Regions from separate parts of the Homo sapiens genome. Here region 1 is linked to region 2. The links are contacts of gene promoters, found by promoter capture Hi-C in human tissues and cell types (Jung and others, 2019). All regions are on one chromosome and are shown on one strand. The core of a region is centred on a gene start or on the middle of the fragment in contact, and the rest is flanking DNA. Distances in the headings are between cores, read along the strand shown.

Region 1 (7,247 bases), core at 1,510-4,009, 33 kb after region 2:
GTTGCTAGGCTGGTCTTGAACTCCTGACCTCAGCTGATTCACCTGCTTTGGCCTCCCAAAGTGCTGGGATTACAGGTGTGAGCCACCCCGCCCAGCCAATTTTAATATTTTTTAAATATAAAATTGCCTTTCTGATTTGTATGTCATTAGTTATTGAAATTAACTGTTAATAGCCATATGTTTGCCCTTCATTTACTGTACTTTAAAGTTTTTGAGACAGGGTCTTGCTGTATTGCCCAGGCAGGAATTCAGTGGTGTAGCCATGGCTCACCTCAGCTTTCAGCTTCAACCTCATGGGCTCAAGCGATTTTCCTGCCTCAGCCTCCCAATTAGCTAGGACTACAGGTGCACACCCCTATGCCTGGCTAATTAAAAACATTTTTTTGTAGAGACTGGGTCTCACTATGTTGCTCAGACTGGTCTGCGATTCCTGGGCTCAAGTAATCCTCCAACCTCTACTCCTCAATTTTTTTTAGTTTTGGAGACAGGGTCTTGCTGTGTTTCCCAGGCTGGAGTGTAGTGGCACAATCTTGGCTCACTACAGCCTCGAACTCCTGGGCTGAGTTGATCCTCCTGCCTCAGCTTTTTGTGTAGCTAGGACTACAGTCCTGTGCCCACCACAATCAGCTAATTAAAAAAAAAATTTAAAAATGTTTTTTGTAGAGATGAGGTCTTGCTGTGTTGCCCAGGCTGGTCTCAAACATTTGGCCTCAATGATCCTCCTGTGGTGGCCTCCCAAAGCACTGGGATTGCAGATATGAGCCACTACACCCAGCCCATTTACTGTAATTTTTAGCCTTTGAGAATTTTGTGATATTGGCTAGATTTTGCCATAGAGATTTGTAAGTAACCAAATTTTATTCCTAACATTGACTACTAGATAACTGAATGGTTTTGGTGAGACTTTACCATTCACACTTGAATATTTATGTTTTCTTTAAGGGAAATCACAATGTATATAAGTTTTTAATTTTGTTTCAAATGAATTCCATTTGATAAAACACGTAGCATAGCTAGGTGGGGTGACTCAAACCAGTAATCCCACTGAGTCAGGGGCCTGAGTGGGAGTATCCTTTGAGGCTACGTGTTTGAGACCAGCCTGGGAAACATAGTGAGAACCTGTCTCTTAAAAAAAAAAAAGGCATAAAATAAACTGGACACTTTTAAGAGGTATGTTGGTCCGGATCATTGGTTTTAGAAGATAGAGCAAAACTTGAGAGTTAAACCCTAGGGTTTTTTTTGTTTGTTTGTTTTGTTTTGTTTTTTAGCTCTGATTCTACTAGAAGTAGTCATGTCATCTTTGGCAATTCTCTTAATGTAACATTTTGGAACTTGGTTTCCTTGTCTATATGAGAGAGTTGATGATACCTTACAAGTTGTACTGAGGATTACATGAGCCCTCCATGCAAAATACTAAATACACTGATACAGATATGGTTGGTACTCAAGAAATAATGGCATAATTTTTTTTTTCTTGCTATGTTGCCCAGGCTGGTCTCTTAACTCCTGGCCTCAAGCAGTCCTCCCACCTTGGCTTCCCAAAGTGCTAGAATTACAGGCATGAGCCACCATGCCTGGCCAAGAAACAATGCTGTTATTACTCTAGCTAGCAGAAAACAAAAATCATTTTCTGGAGAATTAGACTATTTAACAAGGCACATGCTTATCAGTACGTGCGTTACCTCTTCTAGTGTTCTGCTGTGTTGATATTAGTGACCAAGATCTGCATAGTTTGAGAACCCTCTATTTCAAGGATTAGGAGGTAGAAAGCTTATGAGAAAGAAATCTGGCCTGGTAAAATGCACCTTCGTGGGCTTTTTGAAAGATGGGACTCATTCTTTGTCTTTCAGTGGTTTATTATAATCTATTAAAATTTACTTTATGACCTGAGACAAAGCCATTTTACTATTTAGGCTCAGTTTAACATTGTTAAACCTGTCTACTATTCAGAGTGTACCAAGGTGCTTTTATTTCTTAAGAGTTCTGTTGTATTTCATCCATAAAAATGATTGAAGCAGGGTCAGGAACCAGTGGCTCATGCCTGTAAGTCTAGCACTTTGGGAGGCCAAGGTGGAAGGATTGCTTGAGGCCAGGAGTTTGAGACCAGCCTAGGCAACACAGCGAGACCCCATCTCTACGAAAAAAAAAAAAAAGATGGGTGTGCTGCTGTAGTGTTAGTTTATAGTCCTAGCTGCTCAAAGAGCTGAGGTGGGAGGCTCCCTCAAGGGGATCCCTCAAGATTGAGGCTAGAATGAGTTATGATTGTGCCAGCGCACTTTAGCCTGCACAACAGTGAGACTCTGTCTCCAAAATAAATAAATAAATAGATTGAAGCAGATAACTGATAACTGTTATTGTTATGGGAGGGATGTTATCTCCCAAAGATTACCCATAGATACTTGGAATTAATTTTTGGAGCTCTATTTGGACTATCAGAGCTCTCTTAAAACATGACATTGCTTGCACCAAAAAAATAGAAGCCAAGGGGGCAAAAAACATGAAATTGCTTCATTTAGTTATTTGCTTTCTTAAAAAATATTTTGGGTCTGGCATAGTGTCTCATGCCTATGAACCTTGAGACCAGGAGTTGGAAACCAGCCAGGGCAACTTAGGGAGACCTCATTTCTTTTATAAATAAGTTTTTTCTTTTTTTGGAGACAGAGTCATGCTCTGTCACCCAGGCTGGAGTGCGGTGGCATGATCTTGACTTATGGCAGCCTCCACCTCCTGGGTTCAAGTGATTCTGGTGCCTCAGCCTCCTGCGTAGCTGGGACTACAGGCACATGCCACCACACCCAGGTAATTTAAAAAATATTTTTAGTAGAGATGGGGTTTTGCCATGTTGGCCAGCCTGGTCCCAAACTCCTGGCCTCAAGTGATTTGCCCACCTCGGCCTCCCAAAGTGTATAAATAAAAATTTTTGAAAAATATTTTGTATGTTTAATAATTTGTTCATTATAATGAAATTTATTTTGTGCTACAGAAGAAATAAATGTATCTTACTGTACATTATAGACATAACGTTAGTAAATGGAATTCCCTGTAGTTGCACACCTCCTTGGTTAACTGTTTGAAGTCTTTCTCCAGACTTTCTATGCCCATTACAGCATTTTAAATTTTAACTAAAATGTTGTATACTGTTTTATAGTATTCTTTCTTAGTTATCCTTTTATAGTTTTCTTTCTTTTCCTTTTCCCCTTTCCTTTCCTTTCCTTCTCTTTCTCCTTCTTCTCCTTCTTCCTTTCCTTTGCTCTCCTTTCTCTTTCTTTCTTTGTCTCTCTTTCTCTCTCCCCTCCCCTCCTCTCCTTTATTTTTTTCCTTTCTTTCTTGACGAATTCTCACTTTGTCGCCCAGGCTTGAGTACAGTGGCGCAATATCGGCTCACTGCAACCTCTGCCTCCCAGGTTCAAGTTATTCTCCAGCCTCAACCTCCCTAGTAGCTGGGATTACAGGCACCCACCACCACACCTAGCTAATTTTTGTATTTTTAGTAGAGACAGGGTTTCATCATGTTGGTCAGGCTGGTCTTGAACTCCTAACCTCAAGTGATCTGCCTGTCTCGGCCTCCCAGAGTGCTGGGATTACAGGCATGAGCCACCACATTTGGCCTATTTTTTCTTTTTAATGTAATTTCTTTAGTAACAGTTTTATGTTTCAGTAATAGATATCTATTTCCATTTTTTGGAAATGACTAGAATTACTTATGGATGCTGCTTAATTTATTTTTATGCAATTCTTTCTAATCTACTTGAGTTATTTCTGTTTTTCTTATATTATGAACCATGCTGCACTCAACATTTTTATACAGCTTCTTTTACTTGAATGGATATTTTTGGGGATAAATTATAGAAGCAGATCAAAATGTATGAAGGGAAGTATGTCAGAGTATGAAGTGGGTAAAAAGGTTGTGGAAATTAAGTGTTAGCTATTATGAGTTTTAAATGGTTTGGTTCCTGATTCCATTTAGATCTTTATTGTTTTTCTTCATTTTTGTTTGTATTTACTTTGTATTATTTTGCTTTGTTGCATGTATTCTAGTTAGCCACTTAAAAAAAATTTAATTTTTGGGGAGCTAGGGTCTCACTCTGTCACTTAGGCTGGAGTACGGTTGTACGATCTCAACTCACTGCAACTTCCACCATCCAGGCTCAAGCGATCCTCCTACCTCAGCCTCCTGAGTAGCTGGGACTGCAGGCACATGGTGCACCACACTGGCTAATTTTTGTATTTTTTTTTTTTGTAGAGTGGGGGTTTCATCATGTTGCCCAGGCTGGTCTCAAACTCCTGGGCTCAAGCAGTCCACCCACCGCAACCTCCCAAAATGCTGGGATTACAGGCATGAGCCATTATGCCTGACCATTAGCCACTTTTAGATTCCTAATACATGTTTTTTCCCTGAGGTGAGGTCTAACTGTGTTGCCTAGGCTGGCCTTAAATGCCTGGACTCAAGTGATCCTCCCACCTCAGCCTCCTGAGTAGCTTTATGTTTCAGTAATACATATCTATCTCCATTTTTTTGGAAATGACTGAGATTATAGGCACATGCCAGTGTGCCACGCTAAATTCTCTTTATAACAAAATTAGGGAAATATTATCTTGAATCTTTGGGTGGTACTGATTAGCATTTTGTTTTTTTTTTTGGAGACAGGGTCTTGCTCTGTTGCACAGGTTGGATGGAGCGTGGTGGCATAATCACAGCTCACTGCAGCGTCGATTTCCCAGGCTCAAGCGATTCTTCCCCTTCAACCTCTCTAGTAGCTGGGACTACAGGCCCACACTACCACGGCTGACTAAGTTATAAAAATTTTTGGTAGAGTCAGGGTCTCACTATGTTGTCCAGGCTAGTCTTGAACTCCTAGGTTCAAACGATCTTCCTGTCTTGGCTTCCCAAAGTGTTGGGATAACAGGCATGAGCCACTGTTTCTGGCCTAATTAGAAAATTTTAAAAACATTTTTCTATTCCCTGCACCATTTCTCTCCTACAGGGTTGGATCTGTTTTTTGTCTTGTTTCTTCACTTTCTTAATGTAAAATAGAAAACATACTGTAGTGTTGTAATTACTAAGTAAGCAGGATCTTGTTTTTTTTTTTTTTTTCTCTTGGTAGGAAAAAAATACAAAAGTTCTTTTGAAATAAAAATCTTTCTCACACTTTTTTTTTTTACATAGAACTACACATACACACACACACACACACACAAAGAAAAAATATTTTTCTCAAATAGAAATGGTAATGTTCAATTCAAACACACATGCTATCCCACAGCATTTCTTCTTCATTCAGTGTGTTGTAGATTCTTCTGTAACATGGCACAGAAAGAGAAACAGTTTGGTGAGTGGTTAAGAGCCCCAGTTGGAGTTGGTTGACACCTCTTCGTTTATGTAGTATGACCTTGGGCAGACTGCATTGCTGCTGTGCACTGGGGTTTTCTATTTTGAAATATGGGAATTATAATTGTTCCTAGGATTTTTTTGAGGGTTAACATTAACTTGTGAAGTTCTTAGAACAGTTGGTTCAAGATATTTAGCTGAATAAATATAAACTGTAATGTAATGATTATAATATAATTTTCTCATTTAAAAAATATATATGTTACGGATTTATCACATTCATTAAGTCATTCTCAAATTGATGTGCAGAAAACTTTATTTTAGAACACGTTATTTTTCCCTTAGATGTTTTCAAAGTGATGGTTTTTATTTTAGTAACTGGTAACAAGTCTTATTTTGCTCTTAGTTCCTTCAGTGAAGAACGTAATTGAAGCTTCAAAGTGTTTATAAAATAGGGAAGTAATTAACTGCTTTTCATTCCTAACCCTGGATATGTCTGCTTTTCTCAGGTTCTATTTTGTATAGTTTTTACAATATAGTCTTGTTTTCAAATAGTAGTCTTCACATCAGCCATTGCTGAAAACTGCTTACTTTAATTTTATCTTTTTATAACCTGCTGCATAAATAATTTTGCCAAGGCCAGGTGTGGTGGCTCACGCCTATAATCCCAGCACTTTGGGAGGCCAAGGCAGGCGGATCAAATGAGGCCAGTTCAAGACCAGTCTGGGCATATGGTGAAACCCCATCTCTAATAAAAATACAGAAATTAGCCATGCATGGTGGTGCATTCCTGTAGTCCCAGCTATTTAGGGGGCTGAGGCGGGAGGCCCACTTGAACCCAGGAGGCTGAGGTTGCTGTGAGCTGAGATCACGCTACTGCACTCCAGCCTGGGCAGTAGAGCAAGACTCTGTCTCAAAAAAGAAAAAAAAAATTTGCCCATGCTACTGGGACCTTCAATTTTAGTGAAAGGAAGAACATTTTATTGTTCCTATTCTGTTTTTTCTGTAGGTTATTGCCTTCTTTGCAATTGGAAAATCAGTTTCATGATGATTTTGTTATTGTGTTGGTTATCCACAAATGTCTAGAGAATACTGTATTTTCCTGAGAAAGACACATTATGACATACTGTTACAGAGAGAAGACAGCCTCAACCAAATCTGGAGAAGGTTTTTAAGAATGTGGGAAATGCTTGCTAACTTTTTAAATCACTGAGCAAAGTTAGTTAATATTTTCATTAGACTTGGGTGACCCAAGTAAGGAATCCTTTACATTTTTTTCTAATGGAAGAAAATACTGTCTTAATCAGGATAATTCTAGGGATGGGGTAAGGCTAGGATAGTTGTACTCAGTGCTAGCTGTTGGAATCAGTTTTGTAGTTTAAATTATATAGACCAGTGTGGGCCTGTAGTCCTAGCTACTCGGGAGGCTGAAGCAGGAGTTTGGCTTGAGGCCAGGTGTTCAGGGCTGTCTTTTGTGATGATCGTGGCTGTAAATAGCCACTGCACTCTAAGTTGGCAACATAGTGAAACCCATCTTAAAAAAAATTAAATAGATCTGAATCAGATTTTGCAGCTTTAGTTTTAGATATACCATATAGTTAAGACCCCTAGCTTAAGAGAATTAGGATGCTCAGTAGTGAGTTCATTTAGGTCTTGCATATAATATAAAGGATATTAACTTGGTTTTTGCCTTGTTATTTGCACAATACCTTTTTCGAAAGCTTTGAGTTACCAGCATGATGCTGATTGTTGGATTTAGAGCCTATTGTTTAAGTTTTTTTTGTTTTTTTCCGAGACAGGGTCTCACTCTGTCACCCAGGCTGGAGTGCAGTGGTGAGATTGTAGCTTACTGCTGCCTCAAACTCGTGGCCTCAAGCGATTCTCCTGCCTCAGCCTCCCAATGTTCTGGGATTACAGG
Region 2 (6,611 bases), core at 1,880-4,379:
TATTATATAATATACAATATATATTATATATATTATATATTATATAATATACAATATATATTATATATATTATATATTATATAATATACAATATATATTATATATATTATATATTATATAATATACAATATATATTATATATATTATATATATTATATATTATATCTGCTGCTTGATATATATAATATATAATATATATTATATATAATATATTAAATATATAATTAATTAATTAATTAATAAATTATATAATATATATATATATGCAAGTGAGGTCTAGACTTGAGCAAGGCCATTCTTTGGGCTGAAAGAACAGAGCTCTACCTTTTTGACTTTGTTCCCTACAAACTTCCTCCATTGATTGCCTGTGGCCAGAATCTTATCAGGGACTTTTACATTATTTTGCCCAAGGTCTATCCATTTTAAAACAGATAAGTTTCATAAAGTGCTTAGCTAAGACTGGCACACAGTAATTGTCTGATGCTTGTAGCTATTATTAAGTTAGAAAATGAAGCTAGCTCAGAAAAGAATAACAATTAGGCAATTATCGGCCTGTTATCACCCTAGTGTAAATGAGAAGTCAAATAATTTCCTTGGAACAGGTTTTGATTGGGATAAGGATGCCTGAGATTCCAGAAAATGAAAGGAGAATCTGGGGAACTGAAGGACCACTAGGGAATTCTTCCTGGAGTCAATTATATGTGGAGAGGAGCAGAAAATCCCATCCTAAATAATCAGGTGTTACAGGCCGGGCATGGTGGCTCACGCCTGTAATCCCAGCACTTTGGGAGGCCAAGGCGGGCGGATCACGAGGTCAGGAGATCGAGGCCATCCTGGCCAACACAGTGAAACCCCATCTCTACCAAAAATACAAAAAGAGAAAAAAAATCAGCCGGGCACGGTGGCAGGTGCCTGTAGTCCCAGCTACTTGGGAGACTGAGGCAGGAGAATGGCGTGAACCCAGGAGGCAGAACTTGCAGCGAGCCAAGATTGCGCCACTGCACTCCAGCCTGGGCGACAGAACGAGACTGTCTCAAAAAAAAAAATAAATAAATAAAAAAATCAGGTGTTACAAATCCAGACAGTTTAAGATGCCACAGTATGAAGTAGCTGCTGTCTTCCAGTCTGGAGATGGGGATGAGGCATCCTTTTCAATGTCAGAAACTGTGGAGCTCTAGCTAGAAAGACGCCGTAGGGGGGTTGTGGTATCACTCTCTTTCAGATGCTCTTTTATCCTAGAAGGAGCATTTGGGGCTCCCAGGGATTGTCACGAATTAAGCATCCACTATGTGTAGAGCTTTATATGAATTAAAAACAACAATAGGCCAGGCGCGGTGGCTCACGCCTGTAATCCCAGCACTTTGGGAGGCCGAGGCAGGCAGATCACCTGAGGTTGGGAGTTTGAGACCAGACTGACCAACATGGAGAATCACCGTCTCTACTAAAAGTACAAAATTAGCCAGGCGTGGTAGCGCATGCCTCTAATCCCAGCTACTCGGGAGGCTGAGGCAAGAGAATCGCTTGAACATGGGAGGCGGAGGTTTCCGTGAGCCGAGATCGTGCCATTGCACTCCAGCCTGGGCAACAAGAGCGAAACTCCGTCTCAAAAAACAGCAACAACAAAATAGTAAGGCAGTGTGTGAAGCAGGATAGCAGGAGTCAGAACTAGACTCTAATCTTAGCTCTGCCAGCCACACTGTCGGTGCGACCTCGGGGAAGTCTTTTGTGCGTTTTGAGCCTCAATTTTCTCAGCTTTTCTGTGGTTTGATGGTATTGAGCCTCCCCAGTCTCAGTTTATTCATTTGTAAAATGGATACTACCTATTTCACAGGACTGCTTGAGATAATGAAGGGTACAGCGCTTAGTGCCATGTCTGGTAAATATTATATTAAAACTTGATTGCTCCATGACGCCTGCCATTTTTTTTTTTTTTTTGAGACGAAGCCTCACTCTGTCGCGCCCAGGCTAGTGTGCAATGGCACTCTCTCAGCTCACTGCAACCTCCGCCTCCTGGGTTCAAGTGATTCTCCCGCCTCAGCCTCCCGAGTAGCTGGTGCCTGCCACCACGCCTGGCTAATTTTTGTATTTTTAGTAGAGACGAGGTTTCATCATGTTGGCAAGGCTGGTCTTGAACTCCTGACCTCAAGTGATCCACCGGCCTTGGCCTCCCAAAGTGCTGGGATTACAGGCGTGAGCCACCGCGCCCGGCCGATGCCTGCCATTCTTTCCCACTCAATGCCACTGTGCTTAGGACAAGGCACCTGCTAAGGAGTGGGGTGTGCGGGGTTGGGGGTGGGAGTGATCTTGGCAGGTCTAGCTGGGAAGAAAATCCTTATCAACAAATGTCACCCAGCATAGGACATTGGGGAGCTGATCACTGGCTGCTGGTCAAAGGGCGCTCCAGTCCTGGGGAAGGCCTAGGTTTGAATCCATCCACAGAGCTCAGTTAAGGCTGCTGATTAGATATGGCGGCTCAGGTCATGTCCCCAGCCAATATGGGAGGCGGCAAGGTTCATCCAGATGAAGGTGGCATTTAGATTTAGGCTCTGTCCTTTCCCGATAGGGTGACCTTGGGCTAGTCACTTTTCCTCTGTGTCCTCTGGAAATGGGGCTCCTCATTCACCTCTCAGAGCGTCTGAGGAAGTGTCGACACAATGGGTGTGAAATGCGTGGGTTACAGGCCGGCGGGTGGCATTGGTTACGCGAAGTCCCCGCGGGGGGTCCCTATCCAACGGGTTCCATTCCGGTTAAGCGGTTCCTTCTCCAGGGGTTTTTCGCCTCGCCGCTGCCTCTCCGCCCCTGCGAGCGGGGCTCAGCGAACAGCCGACTCCGGGGCCATTACCATTGTTCTTCGAGGCTGGGCCGCAGGGGAGGACTCTCGCAAGCCAGACCTCGCCTTTGGTCTTTCCCTCCGCCCCGCACCCGCGCCGCTGTAAGCCAGCGAAGCCTCCCTCGCCGATCTTTGCCGAGGAAGCGAGTTAGCCCCTGAGCCCTCCCGAACGGCGGCCGAGGACGCACCCGAGCGTCTCCGAAGAATCCCGACCCCTAGCAGTCTCCGGAAAGAGCCGAAGAGGCTTCCCACCCTCGGTTTCCCGAGCCATTCCGAAAAAGTCCGAAGTTTTCCGAGCAGCCGTCCTGCCGGACTGCTGGAGGCGGCCACAGCGCCATGTTGGATGCTCTGCTCGTTGAGTGAAGAAAATCCACCGGCATCGCCTGAGCCCCGCTACCGAGAAGGGCGCCGCTTCCTCCGGGGAGGGGGATAAAGATCCCCCGCCGCCGGCCCATGAGGATATTGCCGTGAAAGGTCCGGTCTCTCCGCCTCCTGCCCCCGCCGGGTCCGGCCCCCCCCCTGGGGTCGCGTTGTCACGGAGACCGGCAGCCGGTGGTGCTGGCCCGCGGGGCGGCTGCTGCTGCCGGCGGCGGCGGCGGCGGAGGCGGCGGCGGCGGCGGCGGCGGCGTCGGGCGTGTGTGACCGGCCCCGGCCCCCTCCTCCTCCTCCCCCCAGGCTCCCCCCAGCCCCCCGCTCCCGCCGCCTCCCCGGGTCTGCCCCCATCCCGCCCCCCCGCTGCCCCCGGCCCCTGCACCCCGGCGCGCCCGGTCCCGCTCTGGGGGGGTTGGTGGCTTCGCTTTGCCATGAGTTTACCGCAGAAACCGGCTCTGAAATCAGGCACAGCGACTGCAGCAGGAACCGGACCCGGCACCGGAGCGGCGGCGGCGGCGGCAGCAGCGGTACCGCCTCCTCACCCGGCGGCGGCAGCAGCGGCGGCGGCGGCGGCGGCGGCGGCGGCGGCGGCAGCGGTCCCCCCTCCTCACCCGAACATCAGGGCCCTCCAGACTCAGGCGCCCCAACAGTATCCTTTTCACCTTCCTGTCGGCCCTTCGGTTCTCGTCGTCGCAGTCCAGGGGGACCCCGCAGCCCAGGGGACCCTCCTGCCGGCCGCCACAGCCCAGCCAGGAAAGGGACAGCGGCTCAAGCCCCTGCATCGGGCTTGGGCGGAGCTTTTGGGGTGCCCCGGCAGCAGCACTGCGGGGGGACCCCCAGACCCTCTGCAATACTGTGAAAGCTAGCCCCACTTGGCCATGCTTCTGCAGCCCCTTCCTTTTAGAGCTTGGGGTCCCTTCTCCCCTCCTCCCCTAAGGTACCCTCCCCCCCTTTATTGGGCAGAATTTGCTTGGTGCCTGGGACCAACCCTGCAGGGAAGGCTTTTCTCTGGTTGTTGTGAGGATTACACCCTCCTGCTCTTCACCTCCCCTCGGCTCCCCCTACAGCGGGACACAGTGGGCTTCCATAATTATTATTAGTACATAATAAACTTTATCGGTAAATTTCTTGTTTGAAACCAATCAGCTCGTTTCCGAGGTATGTTGGATTTTCAGTCTAAGGTGAAAATGTACAGAAAGCAGTTCCTCTGGATAATTTTTTTTAGTAATGGGAGAGTTGTGATGTGGTTTGTGGTAGAGATCTGAGGAGGAAATGTGACGCCGGACGCTTCCCTGTCTTTGACCTTTTTAAAGGAAGAGGAAGTTCACCGACATTACCCATCACCCACAAAAGTCTCACTTCTTGGAAGATTTGTGTTAGGCTGAATATTTTTAATGGGCTTTAATTTACTCCTCATAGGCCTGATGTCTAGAGAGTTACCAGGGCTTCTGGAGGAAAGTCTAGTATTGAATGTTTCTAATTTCATGTTATTTGCTCGATTGTAGAATTTTGGAGAGCTTTGATTGAAAAGACTTGGTGATGGGGTATTTTAGTCAAAAACTAGCCGGTGAAGGTAAAACGTTGAATTCATGTATTCCACGGAGATTTAGAAAGGTATTGCGTACCTGAGAATAACATTTCATCATGCATCACCTCCTCCCTACACCCACTGTATTTGTGTAAATCAATAAATAATGATTGGATGTTAGATGTGTTGTGTTTTTATGTTTGTGTCATCGTGCGTTTGACTTTTAGAGATTGTAGGATGTTTGAGCAAGTAAGAAGCTAACTGCTGTGAGGTCCCCAGATTATTTCACAGTCTGTAGTTTGATTCTTGTCTGTATAGATTACTTTGAGAAGGGAAAGCAATCTCCCTTCTAGAGTCATTTCAGGTCATTGTTTGTTTTCTGCCAAGTGTCATTTTCTCTGTTCTTTAAACCTAGTTCGTGATTTTCAATCCAGGCACCGCGGTGCAGTGTAAAGATAAATTCCATTCCAGTGTGACGTGTGTACTGATTTCATAATGTTTTTATCCTGCATGATTCTGTTCAATTAGGAATTGTTCACCGATGAGAAAGTGTGGTGATAACTTAGCGTTGCTTATGGAAAACCTGGTTGGTTTTGTTCAGTGTCTCTGGGGTGGGGGAAGATTGGCTGGTTTGCCTACTTAAAGGCAGAGTTCAGTGTTGAATCTTTTAAACCTGTCTTTGCTTACTACTTTGTGAGTTTAAATTCCTTTCTAATTTCATTTTTTACCTTGATTGCCTATACTCGGTTAGGACTTTTAAGTTTCTGAATTGTGCTACCACGTAAATTACTCATTACCTGCATCTTTGAGCTGTTTTGGCAATTGAACAGAAATAAAAGGAAACCTGTAGTAGGTGTCCTTGATGTACAGAGTAGTAAGGACCACAGTGCTGAATGTGACACTGTTTGGTGAATTGGGTGGCTTTTTGGGATACAGCTGTGTTTCAAGTATGCTTTTTCTCAGTGCATTTCATAGAAGGACTTATAAAAGCTCTGAGTTGGTTGCAACATTCAAGTAGTTACAAAAGCTGAAACTTAATTTTCTTTTGAATAAAAAGCACTTGTTAAAGAGATAAATTTAAGTGTAAGTTCCAGTGTAGATAATTTTAAACCAATTTTAGTCATATGGAACACTTACTTTTGTGTGGCTTTAAGTTTTTACTTTGCCTCATGCCATTGAAGCTAAAATTAATCTTCCTCTTGATGTGTTTCACAGCTCTTATTGTTTTCTCTTTGCTTTTACACACTGAAAGGTTACAATTGCTAAAATAGAAAATTTTATTATATAAACAGTAAAGGAAGTATAGGTTGTAGATTTCATCAGACATACCAGTGGTGAAGTGTTATCAACTGGTAATGGGGTATTGATTAAAAAAGGATTGAAATAGAGCAGTTCTACTTTTCTACCCTGAGGGAGTATGGGAATTTGTATTTGACGCAAGTGGTCATTGTTCAATAAGTGGATAACATTTAAGCATCTTGGCAGGAGTGCATAGCTGGAGTTAGCACTGTTCATGGCTTGAATAGATCTCCAGACCCTCAAAGTATGTGGGTATAGTTGTGTTTGCATTGAATTAATAAGTTCAGACAGTTTTATTTATTTATTTTTGAGACAGAGTCTTGCTTTGTCGCCCAGGCTGGAGTGCAGTGGTGTAATCTCGGCTCACTGCAACCTACGCCGGCTGGATTCCAGCCATTCTCATGCCTCAGCCTCCTGAGTAGCTGGGATTACAGGCGTGTGCCACCAGGTCCAGGTAATTTTTTGTAAGGCGTGATCAGACTGGGTTTCACCATGTTGACCAGGCTGGTCTCGAACTCCTGGCTTCAGGTGATCCGCCTGCCTCAGCCTCCCAAAGTGCTGGGATTACAGGCATTGAGCCAC

Evidence for each region. The method cuts DNA at HindIII sites, captures the fragments that hold promoters and counts their contacts. A contact is called where the count stands out against the background at its distance.
Region 1: a fragment that was not itself captured here is called in contact with the fragment with the promoter of EIF4G3 in region 2 in 1 of the 25 tissues and cell types used here (stomach).

The regions. Positions count from the first base shown.
Region 1 is chr1:21,139,329-21,146,575 of GRCh38, reverse strand. The region is part of intron 2 of EIF4G3 (eukaryotic translation initiation factor 4 gamma 3); the gene reads left to right. Among named protein-coding and RNA genes, the nearest start is that of EIF4G3, 34 kb to the left of the region's middle. The HindIII fragment of the contact is 7,294 bases long and covers 1-6,406 here.
Region 2 is chr1:21,173,415-21,180,025 of GRCh38, reverse strand. EIF4G3 (eukaryotic translation initiation factor 4 gamma 3) reads left to right here and starts at 3,129. Exons shown (of 37, transcript NM_001391906.1): 1 at 3,129-3,304; 2 at 3,668-3,851. RefSeq lists an enhancer at 3,165-3,214. The HindIII fragment of the contact is 22,917 bases long and covers 1-6,611 here.